Regions from separate parts of the Homo sapiens genome. Here all the other regions are linked to region 1. Evidence: promoter capture Hi-C in 16 types of primary human blood cells and fetal thymus (Javierre and others, 2016). All regions are on one chromosome and are shown on one strand. Each heading gives the region's core, a stretch centred on a gene start or on the middle of the fragment in contact. The rest is flanking DNA. Distances are from core to core; before and after follow the strand shown. Region 1 holds the start of TMEM126A (transmembrane protein 126A). Region 2 has its middle 10 kb from the start of MIR6755. Region 3 overlaps EED (embryonic ectoderm development). Region 4 has its middle 24 kb from the start of EED. Region 5 has its middle 10 kb from the start of LINC02695.

Region 1 (2,549 bases), core at 14-2,513:
GATGCAGTGGCTCACGCCTGTAATCCCAGCACCTTGGGAGGCCAAGGCAGACGGATCACCTGAGGTCAGGAGTTCGAGACCAGCCTGGCCAACATGGTGAAACTCCCTGTCTTTTAAAAATACAAAAATTAGCCAGGCACGGCGGCAGCTGCCTGTAATCCCAGCTACTCGGGAGGCTGAGGCAGGAGAATCGCTTGAACCTGGGAGGTGGAGGTTGCAGTGTGCCGAGATCTCGCCACTGCACTCCAGCCTGGGTGAGAGCGAGACTCGGTCTACAAAAAAAAAAAAAAAAACAGTTCAGGGATAACAACAAAGGAAAACATGCTTTTATGAAACCAGATTTTCTCATTTCCTACAACATTACAGGCACTCGTTTAAATATTTATTGCTACCTGTTTTATATCGATAAGAGGTCATTTGGAAATGTTGATTACCTTGACATTCCATATCTCTAGACTTAAAGCTAACCTAATAAGTACAAAGCAGCCTTAGAAATTTATGTCTAGGTTTCTGGTAGTCAAATTTTTGAGGGCCTTGGCTACGATAAGATGATAAGACACAATCTCTGCTGTACAGGAGCTCTGAATGATTTTGTGTATGGGGTGGTGAAATATATAATCAAATTTAGTATGTATATATTGTACTGAGGGCAATTAAGTCACTCAATTCAGTATAAGTGCTGACTGGGCAGCCCCTGTGGGCATTTTGTCTCCGATATTAATAACAAATATCTATCAAAGACAACGCCGCCTGTAAAAACTACAAATATTTCGAAAGATTTTTGTGTTACCTATCTCATGTCATTCTTGGAAGAGCTCTGAGAGATAGGCAGTGTGGGGCCTATCTGAAAGAGAAGTAAAGTGGGACCTCTGAAAATCAAATTTGGCCGTGGTCACCTTGTAAATTGACAGTAAACCTGGGATTAAATTCAATCTCAGGCATTTCTCCTTTCTACTGAGTTAATTTAAATATAAGGTCTTTCCTTCTAGAGTGCAAAGTGAAAAGACAGCAGGAAGAGCTAACTACACTTCTACTTGCTCTCATTTACGCGCAGCGCTGCTGGTAGCTAGCGTGTCACCGCGTCGTGCTTCTCCTGACACCGGGACATTTACTTCACCCCCTCCCCCGGAATACCAGTACCTTATGCTCTCCTCCCAGCAGCCTGTGGGTGCCTCCTCCTTCCTCAGCCACGCCGGAGTTCACTGTGGCCTTTGCTCAAATTACCTGGGCGCAGCCATCTTTGGCTGACTCGTGACGCGGCGTGGGCGGGCGCCGGGTCGCGGCTGCTAATTGGACTGCGGGACGGAGGTTGCAGCCAGCAGCGGCTTTGGGCTGAGAAGCTTCCGGCCCTAGGAGGTGCCGGGAGGCTAAGCGTTGAGGTTTGTTTGCCTGGCGTAGAGTGTGCTCGTTTCACCTACTCTTGCCTCCCAGGACAGAACTTGTAGAAATTGTGAAATTTCGAGATATAAGTTGGGTGACCCTCAGTCAGCCTCTTCCATTGAAAACGTACCTCGGGCATATTACTTAACTTCCTGGTCAGTAGAGCCTACTTACGTTCTTGGCATGGGGTAAATGAAAACTGCACAGCTCTTGGCATATGATAGCTACTCAGGTTAAAAATAAGTCAAAGGTGAGCTATTTCTTGGCTCTATCGATTTTCTACTCTCCCTAGGAACTTAAGCTCCCTGTGCCATGTTTTGATCTGTATTGATTGCCCTACCATAATCAGCACCTCAGAGCTGCAGCTTATTTTTCTGAGGATTTCTCGTGTTCTCCAGAGTACTGCTTATTTGGAAGCAGTGTTGGGTGAAAGTCATCTTATTTCTTCTTGCTTTTTAAGTATAAATACTAGAAAATTTAGAATTATATATGTGGCTTGCATTATATTTCTATTGGACAGTGCTGTTCAGAAGGTACCTCTAATGCTCTCCTCCCAGCAGCCAGTGGATGCCTCACCAGGTCTTCCTCAGCCATGCTGGGGCTCCCTGCAACCTTTGCTCAGTTCGCTTGGACTAATTAACCCAATAGAAGGGAAAAATGCCTACAATTGAATTTTATCTTAACTCCATTAAGATTAGCAGGTAAACATTGTGCCAAAAAATATATAACTAACTGTAGCAATAAATACATGATCATAACACATTATCAGAAATCTTAATTATTCTCATCCTCTCAAATTTCTGAACAAGTGATAAAGTGTTGCATTGTCCAGATAATTTTTATACTGTCTCTCCATTGCAGGGTTGCTTGACCATTAGGCTCCATAGTGCCAAGAAGTCTGTAATTGCAGTTTCTAAACTTGCACAAATAGAAAGACTTATTTTCACGAAGGTGTACAAGAAGGAAAATTCCTAGTCTTTTTTTTATTTTTATTTTTTATTTTTTAGACAGAGTTTTGCTCTCGTCGGCCAGGCTGGAGTGCAATGGCCTGATCTCAGCTCATTGCAACTTCTGCCTTCCAGGTTCAAGCGATTCTCCTGCTTCAGCCTCCAGAGTAGCTGGGATTACAGGCGTGTGCCACCACGCCCAGCTGATCAGCTGATTTTTTT
Region 2 (2,549 bases), core at 26-2,525, 640 kb before region 1:
TGAGTCATATAGTGTGTTAAGCAACGGGCATTCAAAAAATAAGGAAAGGGCCAGGCGCGGTGGCTCATGCATGTAATCCAAGCACTTTGGGAGGCCAAGGCGGGTGGATCACCTGAGATCAGGAGTTCGAGACCAGCCTGACCAATATGGTGAAACCCCGACTCTATTAAAAATACAAAAATTAGCTGGGCGTGGTGGTGTGCACCTGTAGTCCCAGCTACTTGGGAGGCTGAAACAGGAGAACTTCTTGAACCCAGGAGGCAGAGGTTTCAGTGAATGGAGATCGTACCACTGCACTCCAGCCTGGGCGACAGAGTGATACTCTGTCTCAAAAAAAAAAAAAAAGGACGGGGAGGGGGGAAAGGCTCCTGTTTGAAGAGCTCTTAGTCTGGCACTGATTTTAGAGCATAGGAAACCACAAGATGTGTGCATTTCAATGAGATGCTAAAATGAGCAGGTCATTAAAGGAGGTAGAAGAGAGGCAGTAACTCAGAAAGGCAGAGCCCTTTCCAGAGGACATTTGTTTTACAAATATTAACTGAGCCCAACATCATGCATGTAGAAAGCAGCCTGACTACCTGGAAAGCCTCTACTACCAGGAAGGCAGCCTAGCAGGCTGCCTGTTCTAAACCTGGCAAGGCCACCAGAAAGAGGCATCAGACAGTGAGGGGCCCTATCAAATCCTAGTCTGTTCACAGCTGGCGTCTTGGATGTACTGGCCTTGATTATGGCCCAGAAGACTAGAAAGCACAGCCACAGACGAGAAGAGTCCTGGCAGAAAGCTGAGTCAGGCCCCAGTCTGGGACAGGAACTGCTAAATCCTAGACACAGAAGCAATTCAATAGGCGGCAGAGCTAGTGACAATTCTCTACCACTCCCACCCGTAACCTTGGACATGGGTTTGAAAGACACCAGTTAGTAACAGTGAGAAAATTTCAAGTTGACTGTGGAAAGTTGGGCTGGGCTGGGCTGAAATCAACTTTATATAATTATATCTACTTTGGGCTGTTTTGTGTTGTGCCCAGCCAATATAAAATTGCAGTTTAGCAAAACTTTTGAGAGTTTATTATTAAAATACTCCCTAAATGATTATGGTACATTCACTCTTTTCACATGTGGGAACCACTGCATAATAAAGGTCTATATAGGGCCATCACTAATACAGTGCTTTGCACACCTGGCCAATTAAATACATGAATAAATGATTCTCTCCTGTCTACTAGGAGCTAACATTTTAGAGCAAAGGCAAAAAAGTATTTTGAAGGGTCCTTCACAGAGAGTTTTGACTTCCCAAGGGTCACAAACTCTGTATTTCAGCCAGATTTACTCAGGGATTAAGGGGAATAATGCAGAACTCTTACATAAGTTATTCATTTTATTATTTTTCATTAGAGTCAGGGTCTCGCTCTGTCACCAGAGCTGGAGTGCAGTGGCGGGATCATGGCTCAAGGCTCAAGCGATCCTCCTGCCTCAGCCTTCCAAGCAGCTAAGACTACAGGCATGTGCCACCACACCTGGCTAGTTGTTTTTTGTAGAGATGGAATCTCGCTATGTTGCCAGGGCTGGTCTCAAACTCTTGGGCTCAAGTGATCTTCCTGCATCAGCCTTCTAAAGTGCTGGGATTACAGGCCTGAGCCACCATCCCCTGCAGGTTGCTATTCAGAACTGGGATTATTAAGACAATTTGCAACCAGATTCAGTAAGATAAGCCAAGCCTTTCTTATATGAAATATTAACAGTTTAAAAAGTGATTTTGCATGGCTGAGCGCGGTGGCTCATGCCTGTAATCCCAGCACTTTGGGAGGTCAAGGTCGGGAGTTCGAGACCAGCCTGACCCATATGTAGAAACCTCATCTCTACTAAAAATACAAAATTCAGGCATGGAGACGCATGCCTGTAATCCCAGCTACTCAGGACGCTGAGGCAGGAGCATCGCTTGAACCCAGGAGGCACAGGTTGCCATGAGCTGAGATTGCGCCATTGCACTCCAGCCTGGGCAACAAGAGCAAAACTCTGTCTCAAAAACAATAAATAAATAAAAAATAGTGATTTTGCAATGAAGAAAAATAATGGCCCATATAGCACAGGGTGTCAGTTCAGTGCCATACACTTCTTATGATCAATGATTTTCTGGCAACCCAGTTTATTGGTTTCGGAATTAAACACACACACTTCCCTCACTCATTATGCAGAAATGTAAGAGAAATCACCCAACAATTTTTTATTCCACATCAGCCTGGGGTACCCAAGCAAGAAAGGCAAAATGAATCTGCTTTCATTCACATGAAGTCTTGCTCTACATCAGAAAATAACCATGAAATACCAAGAATCTTTGTAGAAATCCACCAGCTCAATTCCAAAGTGATAGTCATTTTCTATAAATCACAACAGGGGAAACCCAGAGGTAACCACTGAAAGCAGGGGAAGTTACAGACTGTGGTCTCTGGTTAAAGAGAGGCCATTTAGCACTTTTTACTTATGGTTGTATTTCTCACAATGTGGGCCCCACTTCCACTACCCTTGGTAAAAGCCATCTAGACTCATTTTCC
Region 3 (2,549 bases), core at 28-2,527, 620 kb before region 1:
AAAATAAAAGCGGGAAAAATCTATCAGATTCCAAGAATAATTATAGAGCTACAATAATGAGGACTGTGTATGTAGTACTGGTGGAGGGACAGATATACAGATGAAACAGAACAGGAAAATCAAAAACAGCCCCACGTAAGTACAGCCAAACAATTTCTGAGAGAGGTGCAAAAGCAATTCAATGGCGGAAGAATAGTCTTCCAACAAATGCTGATGGAACAACTGAGTATCTATAAGAGAAAAATGAACTTCCACCTAAACCTCGCACCTTCATAAGGAAATCAACTCAAAATGGATTACACATTTAATGTAAAACATAGCAGTATAAAACTTTTACAAGAGAACACAGGAGAAAATCTTTAAGGTCTATAGCTTGGTAAGGAGTTCTCAGGCAAAACATCAAAAGCATAATCCATAAAATAATTTTAAAAAATCAATATACTGGATTTAATAAAAACTACAAACATTTGCTCTGTGAAAGACCCTATTAAAGAGGATGAAATGACAAGCTACAGACTGAAAGAAAATATTTGCAAACTATGTATCTGATACAGGATTCATATTTAGAATATATTCAAACTCTCAAAACTCAACAGTTAAAAAAAAAAAAAAAACACAACAAAAAACCAATCCAATTAGAAAATGAGCAAAAGATATGAAAAGACATCACCAAAAAGGATATACGAATGGTAAATAAGCACATGAAAAAGATGTTCAACATCACTAGCCATCAGGGAAATGCAAATTAAGACCACGATGAGATATCACTACACACCTATCAGAACAGCTAAAATAAAAAATAATGACAATACCAAATGCTGGCGAAGATTCGGAGACACTGGATCTCTCATACATTGCTGGTGGGAATGTAAAATGGCACGGCCACTCTGGAAAATAGTTTGGCAGTTTCTTAAAAAACTAAACAAACTTAACCACAACCCAGCAATTGCCCTCCTAGGCATTTACCCAGAGAAATGAAAACTTAAGTCCACACAAAAACCTGGACACAACTGCTGATTAGCAGCTTTATTTGCAATAGCCCAGAACTGGAAATGACCAAAACCTCCTACCATAGATAGTTACATAAACTATGGTAATCCATACCATGGAATACTACTCAGCAATAAAAAAGGAGAACTACTGATACAGGCAACAACCTGGATGGATCTCAAGGGTTTGAGTGGAAAAAAACAATCTTAAAAGGTCCCAAACTGTACCATTCTTGAAATGACAAAATTCACGTGATAAAATGACATAAAACTAAACACACACATTGTACCAGTGTCAATTTTCTGGATTTGATATTGTATTACAGTTATATAATATATAAACTTTGGATTCTGGATAAAGATCATATGGGACCTCTCTGCACAATCTTTGAAACATCCTATGAATCAAGTTATTTGAAGGTCAAAAGTTTAAAGAAAAAAGAAAAAAACAGTTTACACATAAAGCCAAGAAAAAAGTAAATCAGGCTCTGCCCAAGAAAATGTGAAGTGGCCTGAAATTCACATCAAGAAAAGAAACCGGACAGCAATTTCACCAAATTTGATAATCCTAAATGCTCATGTAACATCACCAATAGCTTCTCTAAATTATCAGCTACAAAAAAATACACAGACACACAAACACACACACACACACACCCAGATGGCCTTGACTTACAATGGTCTGATTTACAATTTTTCAACTTTACCAAAATGGTACAAAACAGCTGCAATTTTGAAGTACTTGGAATTTTGAATTTTGATCTTTTCCTGGGCTAGCAGTATGCAGTATGTGAGATATTCAATGCTTTATTATAAAACAGGCTTTGTGTTAGATAATTTTGCCCAACTGTAGGCTAATTCTGAGCACATTTAAGATAGGCTGGGCTAAGCTGATATTCAGTAGGTTATGTGTATTAAATGCGTTTTCAATTTATGATGGGTTTATCACGATGTAATCCCATCATAAGTTGAGGAGCATCTGTATAAATCCATCAACAGGGGCAGGGGTTGGCAAACTACAGCCCATAAGCCAACTCCAGCCACCTGTTTTTATAAATAAAATTTTACTAAAATAGTCACAGAGATACAAAAAAACAAAAGCCAATTCTGTTGGCTTTAGTTACTGGTTATCTTGTAACAATACTGACTATCAGAGAATACTATCACCTTATAAAACTATACTCATCTTACTGGAGCACAAAGAATTATAATTCAATGGCATGTTTTATTCTTAAAACAAGTTTCTAAATATATCAAAATATGAGACTTTAAAAAAGGCAACTTCCCAGCTGCCATTCAATTTAATAAACTACATAAAGTGCTCCCTGCCAAGTTCCAACATGCGCACACACATACACACACACACACACACACACACACACACACGATGGAAGTACAGCTTAACTGCAGTTACCATACCTTAGAAAGTATCAAATCGCCTAACCATCGCACACAATCAACATAATTCCTATGTATGTCTCTGGTAGAAAAATCAGGAAAATGGATTTTCTGAGAAATAAATGGCCTGAAGGAAGAATGGAAATGTAAAAAGTTAAAAGA
Region 4 (2,549 bases), core at 27-2,526, 570 kb before region 1:
CAACGTACTGGGAGGGTGGTGCACCCCAGCTCCACGGGGACAGATGCTCCTGCACATTCCCTTCTGAATCTCACCTTATATACTTCTCCATCTGGCTGTTCATTTGTATCCTTTATAATAAACCAGTAAACATAAGCAAAGTGCCTTTTTAAGTTGTGTGAGCTTTCTAGCAAATTGTCAAACATGAGGAGGGGGTCAAAGGAACCCTGATTTACAGCTGGTTAGTCAGAAGTACTGGTGGCCCAAAACTTGCAAACAGCATTTGAAGTGGGGGCAGTCTTGTAGGACTGAACCCTTTGAATTATGGGATCTGATGCTAACTCCAGGTAGATAATGTCAGAAATTAATTGAATTGTTGGACAGTCAATTGATGTCAGAGAGCTGAAGAAGTGATGTTGGAAAAGATACCATATGTTTGTTGTCAGGAGGGAAAAAGCTTTCATGCCGTTTCACAAAATTCTCAAACCTGTCGGATTCTGTCGTTGATGATTAGCAATACTGATAAGTTACTTTAAGCAGTTCCTTCAAATCCATGTTTCAATTTGGTTTACCCTACTGCCTTTTATGCAAAAATATTAATTTGCTCTGCTAATATTGAAATCGTACTATGTACCAGGTTTTATCCTAGAGAATAATGGTGAGCAAAACCAGATATAAGTCTCTATTTTCATGAGTCTGCTAGTGGAAACAGATGCCCATCAAAAAATCACATATACAGATACATTTACAACTATGTTAAATACTATGGATGAGAGGTTTATGATGTTGTGATTGTTCTCAAAAGAAAGATCATGAAACACTTTCCTGAGGAAGCTGAAATCTGAAGAACCATAAAAGGTCAACTAAGTGAGAATATGGGAATGGGTAAACTTAGATCTTGCATCTTGCAAAGACTTCTGGGACTGGAGTTTCTTATCTTTACCCTCCTATCTCAGCACCCTCCTCTTGTAGATCCCCCCCCCACTCCCCCACACAATTTCACTTCTATTAAGAGCCTCTCAGAATATACTCAGAACAGCATCAGAGGAAAACATTAAATAAAGTTTTTTAACAGATAATAGTATTAGATGTTCAATAAAGAAAGGCTCCTAGCTTCTTATAATTGAGTGCTGGTGTCCTAATCAGCTTCCTCCTCAAATCCTACACTGATGCCCAACTGGGTGTAACTGGTGTTCACCCAGTGAGGGCCTCAGTGATTATGAAAATAAGAGAGCTATGAGCCAAGACTGGTGGACCACAGTGGAGCAACTTACTTTGCTGACTGGAGTACAGCATGTCTTCACAGAGATTTAAAATAGGTTTTGGAGGGTAGAATAGGAGGGAGGACTTCCAGGAGAAGGAAACAGCACCCACAAAAACACAGACGAGTGAAAGAACACCATGTTTTTGCAGGAATGGCAGGTAGTTTAGACTTCTTTTAAGTAAGTCAGGAAAACATCCTGATAAAATAGTGAAATTAAATCAGTTTTTAGAAAAATAAAGAACTAAAGTTTAGTAAATGTGAAAAGTCCCACAAATAGAACTCCTTATTCCTTTAAAATCACGGATACAAAAGTTGTTCCTACACATATTAATCTGAACATCTGCAATTGTCATAGGTTCCAAAAACTTTAGTTTAATTCTCCAGAATCTCCTAATATCTTATTTAAAGTCATTCTCCTTTTTTTTTTTTTTTTTTTTGAGACGGAGTCCAGCTCTGTCGCCCAGGCTGGAGTTCAGTGGCGCCATCTCAGCTCACTGCAACCTCTGCCTCCCGGGTTCACACCATTCTCCTGCCTCAGCCTCCGGAGTAGCTGGGACTACAGGCGCCCGCCATTACGCCTGGCTAATTTTTTGTATTTTTAGTAGAGAGAGGGTTTCACTGTGTTAGCCAGGATGGTCTCGATCTCCTGACCTTGTGATCCACCCGCCTCAGCCTCCCAAAGTGCATTCTCCTTTTTGATTGGCATCACCTGCTGCCTTTCTCCTTTCTCACTGTATTTAGAGCAATCTTTGCCAAATGATTTTTGTGTCTTTCCAGACCATGATGTGGTTGACTAAGAATTTGTTTAAGCCTAACTATTTTTCAGTTCTTCATTTGACTCAAAAAGTAGTTTGTTGTAGAATAGAAGCTTCCCCTTGAAACAGCATATGGCAAGACCTGGAATTAAAAATAGACTTAACCACTGAAAAATTCTTCCATAAAATTAAATTAAATACGTAGTACAATTCTCTTTTACCATGTTATCCTCAATGGATAAAGATGAACTTTTCTCCTTATTAAAATTGAGAATGTTGCAGAATATTTCCATTATGTGCGAAGAAAAGAGGAACTGGCACTTATTAGCACACATAGTATGCCAGTCTCTGTGACAGGTGCAATCTGAGCGCCATCCTACCACTATGCTTGAATAGAGAGATGGTCATACAATGTCAACATGGTAATAAACTTCAGAGGTCATATAACCCACTGCTTTGGTTCTTTAGAGAAAACGCTGAGGCCCAGAGAGTAGGTTAGTGATCATTCAGTTCATTAAAAACCAAATGGGACTTGAGCTGAGTTTTCTGAC
Region 5 (2,549 bases), core at 18-2,517, 560 kb before region 1:
TCAGTTCAAAATATTCCTTTACCATCCAGACACTGGCTCAAGGAGCTCAAAAAGGGAAAAGGTGGCTTTAAAATACTGAGCTGTGGCTGGGTGTGGTGGTTCATGCCTGTAATCCCAGCACTTTGGGATGCTGAAGAAGGTAGATCACCTGGGGCTAAGAGTTTGAGACCAGCCTGGCCAACATGGTGAAACCTCATCTCTACTAAAAATACAAAAAATTAGCTGGGTGTGGTGGTGCACACCTGTAGTCCCAGCTACTCGGGAGGCTGAGGCATGAGAATTTCTTGAACCCAAGAGGTGAAGGTTGCAGTGAGCTGAAATTGCGCCACTGCACTTCAGCCTGGGCAGCAGACTGAACACTCTGTCTGAACAACAGCAACAACAAAAAGATGCTAAGCTGTGCCTCTGACCCTGCATTTTTTCCTCTTTGCTATGTCTTAGTACTTTCTGGTCATGTTTCATATTAATTATTTCTGGTTTCCTGTCAGCTTTGAATTAATCCTAGCTTTGTCCCCTGGGCCCTCACTTTCAGATCCTCTCAGTTCTATTCCATGCATATTATGGGGAGTGTCTTACCCTACCCATAACCACACCCAGCTTCTGTAAGTATAATCCCAGAATGGCATCTGAGACCCCACTTGCCTGGCAGAGGAGTTTCGATGTGTTCCATAGCTTTGATGTTACTATTCCTTACTTTAAGACACAAGATGCTTTTAGATCTGACACATGTTCATTTCACTAGCTTGTCTCCTGCCATTCCTCAACTAGGATGTTATGGATCTGTCCTATTGAATTTCTTGAGCAGTTTCTGGAGCATGTAATTTTATTTCCCATCTCAGTTTTTGCACATGGCACATTTCCTTCTCATAAAAACCCTTGCTCCACCATCCCCAATTCTCCAGCTATCTCCTCCTCTTAACCTCAAAGCTAGTTTCAGGGGTCGCATCTCCCAAGAAGTTCCAATCTCACTTAGATGCTTCTCCTTTAGGCTACAGTGTTTATGGCACAGTAGCAATTGCTTTACTTATGTGTCTCCCCCCTGCTCCCAGATTTTGAAAGAGGTTACCACATTTTATTCGACTTTTTTTTTTTTTTTAAACAGAGTGTCACTCTGTCACCCAGGCTGGAGTGCAGTGGTGCCAGCTTGGCTCACTGCAATCTCTGCCTCCCGGGTTCAAGTGATTCTTATGCCTCAGCCTCCCAAGTAGCTGGGATTAAAGGTGGGTGCCACCACACTTTGTATTTTCAGTAGAGACAGGGTTTCGCCATGTTGCCCAGTCTGGTCTAGCATTCCTGAACTCAGGCCATCTGCCAGCCTTAGCCTCCCAAAGTGCTGGTACTGCAGGCATGAGCCACCATGCCCAACCTTTTATTAGACTTTCTATCCTATCCCTAGCCTATGATAGGGACTCATTAAGTGACTATTGAGTAAATCAGTGAATGAATGAATTAATGAATAAGTGAATATATTGCCTAATACGTCTACTTAAAGCCTCTTAGAAAGCAGGTGTGGTATGAATTGTAAACAAACAATAGTACTACAATCTTAATATGGAGGGTGAAAAATAGAAAGGTCTTCAACAGATAATATTTTTTTCTATTTATATATGTTCCTTTTTTTCTAGATATGAGCAAAAGTCTGAGTGCCAATTGCTGAATCAAGATTTACCCAAATGTTACCAAAACCAATGGCAAGTTAGTCAAATTTAGGACTCATCAGTGAGTTAACAATTATTGAGTATCTATTATGTGCACATCACTGTTTATAAGGATGTTGTGATTTAGTGAGGGAGCATATACAAAAATAACCCTGAGGAAGGGCAGACTGTAATAATCAGATTAGAGACTCAAACCACATTCTGTGGGATTCAAATGGAAAAAAAGATTAATTCTTATTAGAAGTAATGAAGTCAACAATGTATGGGGTGGGCACAGGCTGTGAAAATCAGGACAACCAGCTAATTAATGTTGCACAGAATAAATGGTGAATTGCATAACATCTATTGCTTGTCAGCTGGTTGTTTTGCTCTACAACTGCCTTAACCTCTGAGTGACATGGAAGTGAGAAAAAGAAGGAAGTGCAGCAGGACTCAAAGGGGAAGAAATGACTCTTGCTAAAGAAGGAAGAGAAGTGGAACCAACCACAGGGAGGAGAGATGGGGTAAAAATTGCTTTGAGGCCGGGCGCAGTGGCTCACGCCTGTAATCCCAGCACTTTGGAAGGCCGGCCAAGGCGGGCGGATCACGAGGTCAGGAGATGGAGACCATCCTGGCTAACACGGTGAAACCCCGTCTCTACTAAAAAAAATACAAAAAATTAGCAGGGCGTGGTGGCGGGCGCCTGCGGAGGCTGAGGCAGGAGAATGGTGTGAACCCGGGAGGCGGAGCTTGCGGTGAGCGGAGATCGCGCCACTGCACTCCAGCCTGGGCGACAGAGGGAGACTCCGTCTCAAAAAATAAAATAAAATTGTTTTGATTCCGTTGTAGCATTTCCTTGAGTCTCTTCAGTTCTAAGAATAGGGAAAGGAAGAAAAGAAGAGAGCCTGTCAT

What was found. The method cuts DNA at HindIII sites, captures the fragments that hold promoters and counts their contacts. A CHiCAGO score of 5 or more calls a contact.
Region 2: a contact is called between a fragment that was not itself captured here and the fragment with the promoter of TMEM126A in region 1, in 6 of 17 cell types (total CD8 T cells, M0 macrophages, naive CD4 T cells and 3 more). The highest score is 9.2, in total CD8 T cells.
Region 3: a contact is called between a fragment that was not itself captured here and the fragment with the promoter of TMEM126A in region 1, in 6 of 17 cell types (naive CD4 T cells, total CD8 T cells, non-activated CD4 T cells and 3 more). The highest score is 13.0, in naive CD4 T cells.
Region 4: a contact is called between a fragment that was not itself captured here and the fragment with the promoter of TMEM126A in region 1, in 6 of 17 cell types (naive CD8 T cells, total CD4 T cells, activated CD4 T cells and 3 more). The highest score is 12.5, in naive CD8 T cells.
Region 5: a fragment that was not itself captured here is called in contact with the fragment with the promoter of TMEM126A in region 1 in 5 of 17 cell types (non-activated CD4 T cells, naive CD4 T cells, total CD8 T cells and 2 more); the score reaches 10.8 in non-activated CD4 T cells.

What each region holds. Positions count from the first base shown.
Region 1 is chr11:85,646,681-85,649,229 of GRCh38, reverse strand. TMEM126A (transmembrane protein 126A) reads right to left here and starts at 1,263. Exons shown (of 5, transcript NM_032273.4): 1 at 1,141-1,263. RefSeq lists enhancers at 1,013-1,282, 1,453-1,502. The HindIII fragment of the contact is 2,186 bases long and covers 1-1,342 here.
Region 2 is chr11:86,287,193-86,289,741 of GRCh38, reverse strand. It overlaps a transcript of EED not described here. Among named protein-coding and RNA genes, the nearest start is that of MIR6755, 10 kb to the right of the region's middle. The HindIII fragment of the contact is 5,987 bases long and covers 1-2,549 here.
Region 3 is chr11:86,268,421-86,270,969 of GRCh38, reverse strand. EED (embryonic ectoderm development) reads right to left here. Exons shown (of 12, transcript NM_003797.5): 9 at 2,409-2,514. Among named protein-coding and RNA genes, the nearest start is that of MIR6755, 8.6 kb to the left of the region's middle. The HindIII fragment of the contact is 6,326 bases long and covers 1-2,549 here.
Region 4 is chr11:86,219,501-86,222,049 of GRCh38, reverse strand. No RefSeq gene overlaps it. Among named protein-coding and RNA genes, the nearest start is that of EED, 24 kb to the left of the region's middle. The HindIII fragment of the contact is 1,675 bases long and covers 439-2,113 here.
Region 5 is chr11:86,202,534-86,205,082 of GRCh38, reverse strand. No RefSeq gene overlaps it. Among named protein-coding and RNA genes, the nearest start is that of LINC02695, 10 kb to the right of the region's middle. RefSeq lists enhancers at 1,872-2,372, 2,373-2,549. The HindIII fragment of the contact is 4,329 bases long and covers 1-2,549 here.